Linked DNA regions of Homo sapiens: region 1 is linked to region 2. The links are contacts of gene promoters, found by promoter capture Hi-C in blood cells and fetal thymus (Javierre and others, 2016). All regions are on one chromosome and are shown on one strand. Each heading gives the region's core, a stretch centred on a gene start or on the middle of the fragment in contact. The rest is flanking DNA. Distances are from core to core; before and after follow the strand shown. Region 1 overlaps RAB8B (RAB8B, member RAS oncogene family). Region 2 holds the start of RPS27L (ribosomal protein S27 like).

Region 1 (6,060 bases), core at 3,546-6,045, 100 kb after region 2:
AACATTCTTTTTGAAAAAGAAGTTATAGGGATAGGTGAAGTTTCAACAGGAATCATTTTCCAATTCATTTTTTTCCCTAAGAATATTTTACTACACATTAGCGTTAGGTTTTATGGATAAATTCCTTGTAACTGATCAAGCTATGGATGTCATTTATATGTTGTTTATGGGCATGGGCATTTCTCTCTTTTGTGTCCTGTAAAGCAAAGGAATATTTTGTGTACATATTTACTTCTGTGACAGATTCTAAATTGACTTAGAAGCTTCACTTTTTAAGTCTTGGAATTTTGCTTTAGCCTTTAAAAAAATTATATATGCAAAATGCATTTTCTTTTCTTTTTTTTTTTTTTTGAGACAAAGTCTTGCTCTGTCTCCCAGGCTGGAGTGCAGTGGCGTAATCTCAGTTCACTGCAACCTCTGCCTCCTGGCTTCAAGCAATTCTCATGCCTCAGCCTCCAAGAAGGTGGGATTATAGGCATGTGCCACCACACACATATACCCGGCTAATTTTTGTATTTTTAGTAGAGACGCGGTTTTGCCGTGCTGGCCAGGCTGCTCTTGAACTCCCGGCCTCAAGCAATCCACCTGCCTCGGCCTCCCAAAGTGCTGGGATTACAGGTGTGAGGCACCATGCCCAGCCACATTTTGTTTTTCAATCTGACTGTGAACTTTTGCTGCAAACTTTTTTCCCCTAAAAACATTTACTTAATTTTAGCATTGTAAATGAACTAGGAACTTTTTGAGGAATATATAAGAGTTCGCAATTTGTCTCAATCAATAGAAATCAAAGCATGAATACTTTAGTATTTAAGTTTTTGTTCAATTCTGGACTCATTTATTAAAATTAATTAAGGCCTGGCGCAGTGGCTCATACCTGTCATCCCAGCACTTTGGGAGGCCGAGGTGGGTGGATCACGAGGTCAGGAGTTCGAGACCAGCCTGACCAACATGGTGAAACACTGTCTCTACTAAAAATACAAAAATTAGCCGGGCATGGTGGCGTGCGTGCGTCTGTAGTCCCAGCTACTCAGGAGGCTGAGGCAGGAGAATCACTTGAACCCAGGAGGCGGAGGTTGCAGTGAGCTGAGATAGTGCCACTGTACTCCTCCAGCCTGGGCAACAGAGCAAGACTGTGTCTCAAAAAAAAAAAAAAAGTAATTAAAAGTAAGTATAGTTTTTTTTTTTTTTATTTGAGATGGAGTTTCACTCTTGTCACCCAGGCTGGAGTGCAATTGCACAATTTTGGCTCACTACAACCTCTGGCTCCCTGGTTCAAGCGATTCTCCTGTCTCAGCCTCCCAAGTAGCTGGGATTATAGACGTCTGCCACCACACCAGGCTAATTTTTGTATTTTTAGTACAGACGGGGTTTCACCATGCTGGCCAGGCTGGTCTCTTAACTCCTGACCTCAGGTGATCTGCCTGCCTCGACCTCCCAAAGTGCTGGGATTACAGGCGTGAGCCACCACACCCGGCCTAAAAGTCAATACAGTAACTGTTGGAGAATTAAACTTTGGGAGCAGATAAAAGGAGTGAATGAATCCCAAGATAATGGTAGTTTTACCAGTGGAGGGTCTTGACTACAAGTCAGCCAGATTCTTGGCATTTTGAGCAAAGAATTGGACAAAATGCACACACACAAACAATGAAAGAATGAAGCCAAAACCACAAATTTATCGAAATGAAAGTACACTCCACAGAGTGGGAGTGGGCTTGAGCAAGCAGCTTGAGCACTGGTTACAGAATTTTCTGGGGTTTAAATACCCTCTAGAAATTTCCCATGGGTTACTTGGTTTACACTCTGTAAATGAAGTAGTGGCCCATGACCAGTTTGATTGGTTGCAGAAGGTGACCAATCAAAGGATGAAATGAAGTTACAAAGTTATACCCTGCGCAGACGTCTGATTGGTTGTGGGAGGGGACCAATCAGAGGTACTTTCCATTTTTAATCTGTGAGTCAGAAAAGGGGAGGAGGTTGCAAAGGGAGTAACCCCTGTACTTTTGTTACTTGGGCATGGAAGGCTGGGGTTTTTCTTTTGATTTAGTTCTAGGAAGTCAATGTGAATTGGCCTTAGGTTCCCTGCCTCCAGACCCTATTCTGCTACCTTAGGAGGGTGGGTATTTATCCCATATTAGAGAACTAAAAGTACAAAAACAGAAAAAAAGAGAAGTACTTAAATTATTATTATTATTTTATTTATTTATTTATTTTGAGACAGAGTCTCGCTCTGTCACCTGGACTGGAGTGCAGTGGTGCGATCTCGGCTTACTCCAACCTCTGCCTCCTGGGTTCAAGCAATTCTCCTGCCTCAGCCTCCCGGGTAGCTGGGACTACAGGCGGGTGCCACCACGCCCGGCTAATTTTTTGTATTTTTAGTAGAGGCGGGGTTTCATCATGTTAGCAAGGAGGGTCTCGATCTCCTGACCTCGTGATCCGTCTGCCTCGGCCTCCCAAAGTGCGTGAGCCACCATGCCCGGCCTTAAATTATGTTTGAAATGGAAGTTGTGCCATCCTTCTTACGATGATTAAGTTAAATTATTAAATTCTGAATACAGTAGAAGAAAGCAAAGAAATTTGAGAACCACAGGAGTTCTGAAATAGATACCCTACCTTTGAGACTTTGAAAAACCTAAGAAATACAAATGCATTATGTGTTCAAGTATCTTTTGCTAAATTTAAATATTTCTGTTTACTTTTCAGCTAGCAATTGACTATGGGATTAAATTCTTGGAGACAAGCGCAAAATCCAGTGCAAATGTAGAAGAGGTAAGAAGGAAACGTTTGGTGACTGTTACGGAGCAGCACCAGTGCTTAGGGGCCTGTGTTCAAACAGCTCTCAGAGCTTTGGTATTTTCTGACCTAATGAATGCCTTTTGTTGACCCAACTCTACTTTGTACACTTTTGTGCTTCTGATTTTTTTTTTTTTGAGATGGAGTCTCACTCTGTCGCCAGGCTGGAATGCAGTGGCATGATCTCGGCTCACTGCAACCTCTGCCTCCCAGGTTCAAGCGATTCTCCTGCCTCAGCCTCCCGAGTAGCTGGTACTATAGGTGTGCATCACCACGCCCAGCTAATTTTTGTATTTTTAGTAGAAACGGGGTTTCACCATGTTGGCCAGGAGGGTCTCGATCTCTTGACCTCGTGATCCCCTCTCCTTGGCCTCCCAAAGTGCTGGAATTACAGGCGTGAGCCACCATACCCAGCTGCTTCTGATTTTTATGTAGACGCTGGTTGTTGAATTTCTAGCATCTAGCCTCCACCTGGATTATATTAGCTTGCTCAGTTAAGATTCACAGAATAGATTATGGAAGTTCAGTTTTGCCCTTTTTTTGGGCAGCTGGAAATCCTGGACTAGAAGACCAACCAGTATCCTGTGCTCATTCATGTCACCCTGTATGCCTGCAGCAGAAGAGTTAAATCACTTTTAAGGCTGTACTCTCTCAAGGGAGAATTAAGCTGTTAGTTTATTGGACACATTCCTTTAGCGTACACATTTGAGGTAGATTAAGCACAATAAATTGTAACAGTGGCATTTAGTGGAAATAGGAAAGTGTTTATCAGGGAGTAGCTTTAATAAATTTTCATTAAGTTAGCTGTTAAGGAAAACCAAACCATCTAAAGTCTTATGAGAATAGGTTTTCTTCAATACCTAACGTAGATGACTGGTTGATGGTTGCAGAAAACCACCATGGCACGTGTATACCTAGGTAACAAACCTGCATGTTCTATACATGTATCCCAGAACTTAAAGTGTAAAAAAAAAAAATAATAGGTTTTCTTCACCAAGGGAACTGTTATTTTTTTTAAAAAACATTTTTTCAACTGATCATAAAAATAATACGTGTAATTTACATGTGATATGTGTTAATACATGTAATTCTTTTAATAATACTGATAGTTTCATAAACATTTAATTTCCTAGGTTACTCATTGTTCATCATAACATGATGGTTAAAAATCGAGACCTACATGACTTTATTAGCCAGTGGACACTGATCAGAACTTTTTCTTTGTTTTAAATAACGTAACAGTTATTTGTTTAGGTTGGCCGATGGGTGTTAGGAAACAGGAAGCCTCTACTGATTTACTTACACAAGCTTAGATAAGCAGAAAAATGCTTCCCTCTGCTTGATACAAAAGGATTTCCCGCCATCAGAAATAATCCAAGTTAAAAATGGACAAAAGATCTGAATAGACATTTCTCAAAAGAAGACAAATAAATGGCCAACAGGTATATGAAAAAATTCCCGACATCAGTAGTGATCAGGGCAATGCATATCAAAAGTACAGTGAGCTATCATCTCACCCCAATTAAAATGGCTTTTATCAAAGAGATAGGCAATAACAAATGCTGGAAAGGATGTAGAGAAAGGGGAACCCTCATATACTGTGGGTAGGAATGTAAATTAGTACAGCCACTATGGAGAACAATAAAAAAACTAAAAATAGAACTACCATATGATCCAGCAGTCTCACTACTGAGTATTTACCCAAAAGAAAGGGAATCAGTGTATCCACCTAAGTGTCCATCAGTGGATGAATGGATAAAGAAAATGTGGTATGTATACACAATGGAATACTATTCAGCCATAAAAAAAGAGTGAAATCCCATAATTTGCAACAGTATGGATAGAACTCCCTGAACTGGGAGTTGCCTGAGCTGCTTATTCTAGCAAGGCATACAGATGGTAACAACTTTGCCAGAGCTTTAAATCAGTGTGGTTAGGCTCATAGGTGACAAGTTTGACAGTGAGACACTGACAATGAGTAATAATAGTAGTTGTCGTATTGTTTTTATTTGATTGGATTGGAAATAATCCTTTTCCTGAACAGTTTTTGGGGATCAGGAGTGTTGGGAACAAAGAGGTTGATTTAACAATAGGTTTAGCATGGTGACAAATGAAGAATCTTTAACAGTTCCTGGCTTCATAGAAAAAGTGATGATGGATTTAAAAAATATTTGGTTTGTATCAAGAGACATTATGGATAAATTATCACGAAGATTAATCAGATTTGCCCTGCTTCTATTCGAACTGACTTCCATGGTGGGGAATTTAGCCGAGAGCTCCAGGAACTGTTGGGATTTTGGAGTAAGACATGGAAGATTATACATATTCAGCTATAAGAGTGAGAGCAATTTGAAAGAAAAAGCCAGAAATAAAAAGTAGAGATTTTTGTGAAGACATTTTAGAGCTATAGGGTAATACATAATTATTTATTCACTCATTAAACCAGATAGTCAGCATTTCCTAGATCAGCACTGTGCCCTGCTCTAGGGAAGTGGGGTAGCTTAGACAGAGCTTCTGTCCTGTTCTTGGTGTACTGAAGAAGTTACTCGTGACTCAACAAGGGTGTTATTGTGATATTATATCACATGAAGAAAATATTTGATGAATGAATGATAGTTTGATAACATTGGAAAATGTTTATGATACAATCTCAAAAGAGTAAACACATGCATACTATGATTACAATTATTACTTTCTTAATGTAAAGCTTTAAAGTGGTATATTTATATTGAAATAATGAAAAATTCTGTATTTCTGTTTTAAAATAAGTCAGGCATGGTGGCTCACACCTGTAGTCCCAGCTACTTAGGAGACTGAGGTGGGAGGATTGCCTGAGCCCAGGAGTTCCAATTCAGCCAGGGCAACATAGCAAGACCCCATCTCTGAGGCGGGGGGAATATATATATGTGTATATATATATATATACATATATATAGTGAATATATAATAATGAAAATGTTTTGTTTTACCTATAGGCATTTTTTACACTTGCACGAGATATAATGACAAAACTCAACAGAAAAATGGTTTGTATCACTTATAATTTTTATTTCCATTATGCTGTCTGTTTGGCATTTGATGAAAAGGATAGGTCTAATTATAAGATACTCAAATTAAACTCATTTTTTTCCTGACTCAGATACTCATTTGGTTGAACTCTGATTCTTAGTTCTGTTTGTTTAGGATTCTTATTTCTGAGCTGCCACTGTTTCAGTCCTTTCTTCTGGCTCTTTAAGTGATCTTTAATTGAATTTTGATGAGAATAATGAA
Region 2 (6,707 bases), core at 1,571-4,070:
TGAACTCTTCCAGTGAGAGCATGGAACTTACAGCTCCCCAAAATATCACAAGCAAATTTATAACATCATTATGGAATCACAAATTTACAAGTATTACTATGGAAACTATATATATAATTTTTTTTTCTTATTGCACTAAAGTGAAAGAGGAATTAAAATTAGGTTTTTATATTAATCATTGCAGTTGCTCATAAAAGTAAAATCTCTGGCATTTTAACTTATATATTAGCTATCTGTTGCTTAGCTGGCAATGATAAAAAAAAAACTATTATATGTACTAAATATATATGGAACAAAATTTTGTAAAAGAAATTTTAAAATTCTATATGGTTTTAAAAATCTGTATGTCCTGGCCGGCGAGGTGGCTCATGCCTGTAATCCCAGCACTTTGGGAGGCCGAGGCGGGCAGACCATGAGGTCAGGAGATCAAGACCATCCTGGCTAACACAGTGAAACCCCACCTCTACTAAAAATACAAAAAATTAGCCAGGCATGGTGGCACGCGCCTGTGGTCCCAGCTACTTGGGAGGCAGAGGCAAGAGAATCACTTGAACCGGGGAGGCAGAAGTTGCAGTGAGCTGAGATGGCGCCACTGCACTCCAGCCTGGGTGACAGAGCGAGACTCCTAATAAAAAAAAAAAATAATAAATAAATAAATAAATAAATCTGCATGTCCTATAACATGTAGTTATTCTTTTGCTTCTATTCTGACTTAATTTATTCCAAGTTAAGCAAACTAAGTGAATAAATGTGTTCTAAACTAAGAAAAATAAGTCAATGGAGTTCACTGCAAGGTCAAGAGTATAAATATATCCATTTGAACAGGCCATTCTTTACTGAAAGCACACAATGAAAGATAAGTTATTTTGGTAATCATTAAGATTTCTTTAAACTTTTCAGTGAAGATAGAGACATTTATAATCATCAATCTCATCACTGGGTTGGAGAATGCCAAATGATATACCTTCTGTGAGTCTGGCCTTTCCTCCTGTAGGCTGGCACAACACTGTTGAACAACCTACACAAAGAACCACTGTCTGAGCATGGCTGAAAACCGTGGTGATCTTGTAGCAACCTAAAAAAAAAAAAAGGCAATGTTAAAAATGAAAAGCAGAGGAAAACAGCACCTGTTCGACATTTCTGGTAATATGTAAAAAAATCAGTAACTTCAGTGCTATGAAACAGCAAGCCACATGTGTAACATAAACTTTTCTAGCAGCGACACAAAATTTTTTAAAAACAGGTAAAATCAATAATATATTTCATTAAACTTAATATTTCCAAAATATCATTTCAACATGTAATCAATGTATTTTTTTTCTGTGCTACATCGTCAAAATCCAGTGAGTATTTTACAATTAAAGAACATCTCTATTTTGAGTATCCACATTTTGATTATCCACAAGTGCTCAGTAGCCACATTCAGCTAATGGCCATTGTATTGGGCAGCACAGCTTTAGACTGAAGAATCAACAGACTTTTCTTTGTATCATGAAACAGAAAACTCATCGTCTGAAGAGCTTAAAGACTTGCTAAGTCAAATGGCATATCTCCTTTGAATGCCTGTTTTCACTTACCCCGAAATGTTTCTACAATGGTTTCAGTACATTTATTATGAAAATGTCCCTGACATTTCCAATTCTGTAATCCCACTTCTACTCAACAGAGGGTTCTAATGTATCTTAACTATACACACCACACTAGCAATCCCTACAGAAATTTTCTTTAGTAAAGGAATTAAGATTTCAAATTTTACCTGGACATTTTACATCCATAAAGTAAGAATTTGGACTTTGTACTAGGCGTTTCTTTTTATGTTTTTTCTTTTCCTCTTCCAAGGACGGATGTAGTAAATCTCTAGCCAACTGAACAAAGAAGCATATTATTACTATTAGTTTTAAACCACAACGCTGGCACATTTAACCATACGTGAAATATACATGCAAAAACAGGAATAACGGTCATCCTCGGCAGAAGCAACACGTCAGATAGTAAAGTTATTTTTCGAAACCTGTTAATAACTTTCATCAGTACTTTTCATAATACTTGTGTTCTCCAAGTCCCTAGAAAAGGGCTTTCGCACGATCAGGAAACATATGGTAAGGCAAACTTTGTCCTTCTTTACTCAACTGCGTAATGAACTGTCTTCGATGAAAACTGCGCGAAGTCGAGGTGCTAAGCAAAGAAAGTGACCCCGACTGTGGACTCGCTTAGAGTAGAAACTGCTGAAGTAGACCAGACAACGTCAGCGCCTGGGTGATTTTTGCTCCTGTGGCTCAACAGCTGATCTGACAGGAATTCTTGCTGAGCGACCGTCCTTGACGGAATTAATATATAAGGCAACAACGAGGACAGTTTTTAAAAAAGGAAAACAAGTAGGAAATCGCTTCCGAAAGAAGGCAGAGGGGGCGAGAAACACCAATCACTGGGAAAGCCAAAAGACCCAAAGATCACAACCTCAGGGGCATCCTCAAAGACCAAGACCGCTCATAAGCTACACAGAGAACTGTTCCCCTCCCAGCCACCGCCTCTGAATTGCAGCCCACGCCCCTGCAGGGCCAGCCGCGCCGCGGTGACCGGGCAAGTCACTACATGCCCGCCACGCGCGAAGACGCTGCGCAACCTGAGCCGCCTCGCCACTCTCGGACACTACAGGCCCGAGAGGCAGCCGGACTCATCCGTCCCATATGACTCTCGGTAAAGAAGCCCAAAACAAACCCGGAGCCCGATGTAAACAACTCACAGGCATGTTGATCCTCTTGCAAGCTCAGCCCTACCAGACCTCCCAGCCCACACAGCTAGCAAGCTGCAAGCGATCTGCGCTCGGCATCAACTTCCGGGATAGAAGCTGCTGGGAGGAGCGGCGGGGCGGGCTTGTCTGCTCTAGGCCCTCCTCTCGGTGGTAGGGGGACGCCGCAGCAGGGTACTCGGGTCCAGGGCGCAGGGAAGACCCGGGGATGGTGAGCGTTCCAGGGTGCCAAGTCCCGTGGGTCTAACGGGCTTGTTGGCGAGCGCCGCGGGCTCTGCAGTGCCTGAGGCCAGAATCTGGCTGGGGAGCGGCCTCGGGCTTAGGCCATGGCGAGGGAGCGCCCGCGGCCACCGGGGCCGGCGCCACCCCGGAACCCGGCGGGCCGCTCAGCCCCCGGCCCCCTGGCCCGGCCGCTCTCGGTTAGCTCTGGGGGTGGGCACACGGGGCAATGCCACTATTCTCTTCTTTTGTGTATTAAAAAATACAGTATTATTAACCATTAATACGTGCCAGAGAGATTATGAAAGAGGCTCGTATCCTTTTGGCTTCCCTTTTCAAGGCGCAGATTTCGAAGTTTTCTGCGGGGTATGGCTGTGCCTTAGGTTTGCTTTGTTCTGAAAAAAAGTTTTTAAAACAGCACGGATTCGCTGCTGTGCCTCATTCACTAAGAGGCCCCACCCCTTCCGAGGATTACTCGTCCTTTGCAGAGTGGACAACTAGGGGGCCTGAGAAAGGCGAATGTCACCGATGACCGAACATGAGTCTTTATCATTATTATTATTTGAGACAAGGTCTCGCTTTTTTGCCCAGGCTGGAATGCAATGGTGCCATCACAGCTCACTGCAGCCTCGACCTCCTGGGCTCAAGCGATTCTCCCGCCTCAGCCTCCCGAGTAGCTGGGACCACAGGAACACGCCATTATTCTTTTTTTTTTTTTTTTTTTCCTTGGAGACAGGGTCCTGCTATATTGCCCAGGCTTGTCTCCAATTCCTAGGCTCAAGAAGTCCTTCCACCTCAGCCTCCCAAGTAGTTGGGACTACCGGCGCGTGACAGCATGCTCTATTTTTGAGGAGGAAACTCTATGCTTGAAAAATGGGTGTCATGGGCGACCAAAAGGCAAGAAACCAGAAAGACACTTTACCAGAAAATTGGTCTAACTGGATTTTTTTTTTTTTTTTTTTTTTTTTTGGCAGAGTCTTGCTCTGTCACCCAGGCTGGAGTACAGTGGCGCGATCTTGGCTCACTGCAACCTCCGCCTCCTGGGTTCACGCGATTCTCCTGCCTCAATCCTCCCAAGTACCTGAGATTACAGGTGTCCATCACCATGTCCGGCTACTTTTTGTGTTTTTAGTAGAGACGGGGGATGGTGGGGGGGGGGTTCACTATGTTGGCCAAGCTGGTCTCGAACTCCTGACCTCAAGTGATCTGCCCGCCTTGGCCTCCCAAAGTGTTGGGATTACAGGCGTGAGCCACCGCGTCCCGCCCTGACTTGATGTTCTTAATCACCTTATTTGTCTTTGCAAAAAGGATACATGTATAATATACATTTTGGGAAATGCAGAAAAATAGAAGAAAATTTACCATCTGTAAATAAACATTTTTAACTTTTGACCTATATCCTTCCCAATATTTTTTACTCTCTTGGATATAGGTTTATTTTGGGTTTTGACTTAACCTAATTGGGATCATCTTGTGCATAATCTTTTGTAGACTTGAATTTTCCTCCCACTTACTATAAAATGAGCATCACTCCATGTCACTACATATTCTTTTTTTTTTTTAAATAAGGTCTCACTGTGTTGCCCAGGCTGGAGTGCAGTGGCACAATCTTGGCTCACTGCAGCCTCGACCTCCTGGGCTCAAGCAATTGTCCCCCCTCAGCCTCCTGAGTAGTTGGGACTGCAGGTACAAGCCACCACGCCTGGCTAATTTTTGTAATGTTTGTAGAGATGGGGTTTCGCCATGTTGCCCAGGCTGGAATATTCTACATTATGCTTCTTAATGGGCATATAGCATTTGTCCTGTGACTATATATATTTTCACTTCAGCCATACACTAAATTGGGCATTAGGTTTGGGTTTTTAAATATTTGATACTTAAAAATTAATAAAAATTGGTGAATATTAAATATTTAATGTATATAAGTATATAGAATAATACAATTGTATACACAGAATAGTGGCCCCCAAAGACATCAGTGGCCTAATCCTCAGAACCTTTAGTTACATGGCAAGTGGAATAAAGGTTGCTGATTAGCTGATTTAATCTAGAAGGAGTATCCTGGATTATCTGTGTAGGCCCAGTGGAATCACAAGGGTTCTTGAAAGTGGAAGAGGAAGACAGAAGAGCGAGAAGGAGATGTGGTAATGGAAGGTCTGAGAGGTGCTATGTTGATGGCTTGTAGATGGAAGAGGGCCATGAGCCAAGGAATGTGGGCAGCGTCTAGAAGCTGGAAAAGGCAAGGAAATGGACTCCCTCCTGGATCTCCCAAAGAGGGACACAGCCCTGCCAACATCTCAACTTTAGCCCAATAAGACCTGGCTCAGACTTCTGTCCAGAACTGTAAGATAATAAATTTGTCTTGTTGCCTGTAATTTCAGCACTTTGGGAGGCCAAGGTGGGCAGATCATCTGGGGTCAGGAGTTCGAGATCAGCCTGGCCAACATGGTGAAACTGCGTCTCTACTAAAAATACAAAAATTAGCCGGGCGTGGTGGCACACACCTGTAGACACCAGCTACTTGGGAGGCTGAGGCAGGGGAATTGCTTGAACCTGGGAGGCAGAGGTTGCAGTGAGCGGAGATGGCGCCAATGCACTCCAGCCTGGGCAACAGAGCGAGACTCTGTCTCAATAAATAAATAAATAAATAAATAAATAAATAAATAAATACATTTATGTTGTTTTAAGCCATTACATTTATGGTAATTGATTACAGCAACAATAGAAAATTAATGCAATAAATGAAGATCCATGTACCCACTACCTAGCTCTGTCAAAGCTTAACATTCAGTACTCCCTCCCAGCAACTTTTCATTATTAACGCTACAATAAACATTTTTATAGATACGTTTTTGTGTTTGTCCTCATTCCCTTAGGATAAATTCCTGGAGGAGGAATTGCTGAGTCAAAAGTTATGCACATTTTAAGGTTTGTAATATAAACTGCCAAATTACCCTCCAGAAAAGCGAAACCAATTTATTTTCCAGATATAAATGTATGTGAATGTCCCTTTCTTTGCACCCTTGATAATACTGGATATTTTGTTTTTCCCTATCTCAATCCAGAAGAACTATTGTTTTGAACTAATACTTTGTCATATTTCATTGTTGTTGTAATTAATATTTTCCATATGCTTATTGGCCATTAGCATTTTTCTACTTTTGTTTTCTTGTGTTTTTGAAACAGGGTCTTGCTCTATTGCCCAGGCTGGAGTGCAGCATCAAACTCCCAGCCTCAAGCAATCCTCCTGCCTCTGCCTCTCAGAATGCTGGGATTACACTGTGACACACTGTGCCCTGCCTAATTTTATTTTTTGATAATTTGTTTTAATCATGCAGAAGTTTTTAATGTTATATATTCACACACACACATACATATTTCAAATTTATTGCTTTTTTCCCTTTTGCTATTGTGTTTAGAGAGGACTTGGTCACTGTAGGATTAACTGAATATTTGCCGTTGCTTTCTTCTAATTCTCTTGTGATATTTATTCTTTAACTTTTTAATTAAGTTGGAATTTATTTTGGCACTTCATGTATCATAGGTCTCAGAACAATTTCTGATTATTAGGCCTAGTTATGGCTTCAGTTCTTGTTAACTAATGCCCGGTGTAGTGTCAAAATCCTCCAGCCTCTCAGACACTCACAGGCAGCCTGAGAAATAAAATTTTCCAGGTCAAGAAGACCTGGACTCTAATTACAACTCTGCCTCCTCCTCCAAAGCTCAGTTTCTCCTAAAA

Evidence for each region. Contacts are between HindIII fragments. The CHiCAGO score rates a contact against its expected background, and 5 or more counts as called.
Region 1: a contact is called between a fragment that was not itself captured here and the fragment with the promoter of RPS27L in region 2, in 2 of 17 cell types (total CD4 T cells and naive CD4 T cells). The highest score is 5.6, in total CD4 T cells.

Annotation. Positions count from the first base shown.
Region 1 is chr15:63,256,927-63,262,986 of GRCh38, forward strand. It overlaps RAB8B (RAB8B, member RAS oncogene family), which reads left to right. Exons shown (of 8, transcript NM_016530.3): 6 at 2,701-2,766; 7 at 5,766-5,816. Among named protein-coding and RNA genes, the nearest start is that of APH1B, 18 kb to the right of the region's middle. The HindIII fragment of the contact is 1,399 bases long and covers 4,097-5,495 here.
Region 2 is chr15:63,154,657-63,161,363 of GRCh38, forward strand. RPS27L (ribosomal protein S27 like) reads right to left here and starts at 2,821. Exons shown (of 4, transcript NM_015920.4): 1 at 2,744-2,821; 2 at 1,757-1,865; 3 at 965-1,075. The coding sequence starts at 2,749. RefSeq lists enhancers at 1,561-2,760, 2,045-2,134, 2,285-2,944, 2,340-2,913 and a silencer at 3,095-3,194. The HindIII fragment of the contact is 11,776 bases long and covers 1-5,745 here.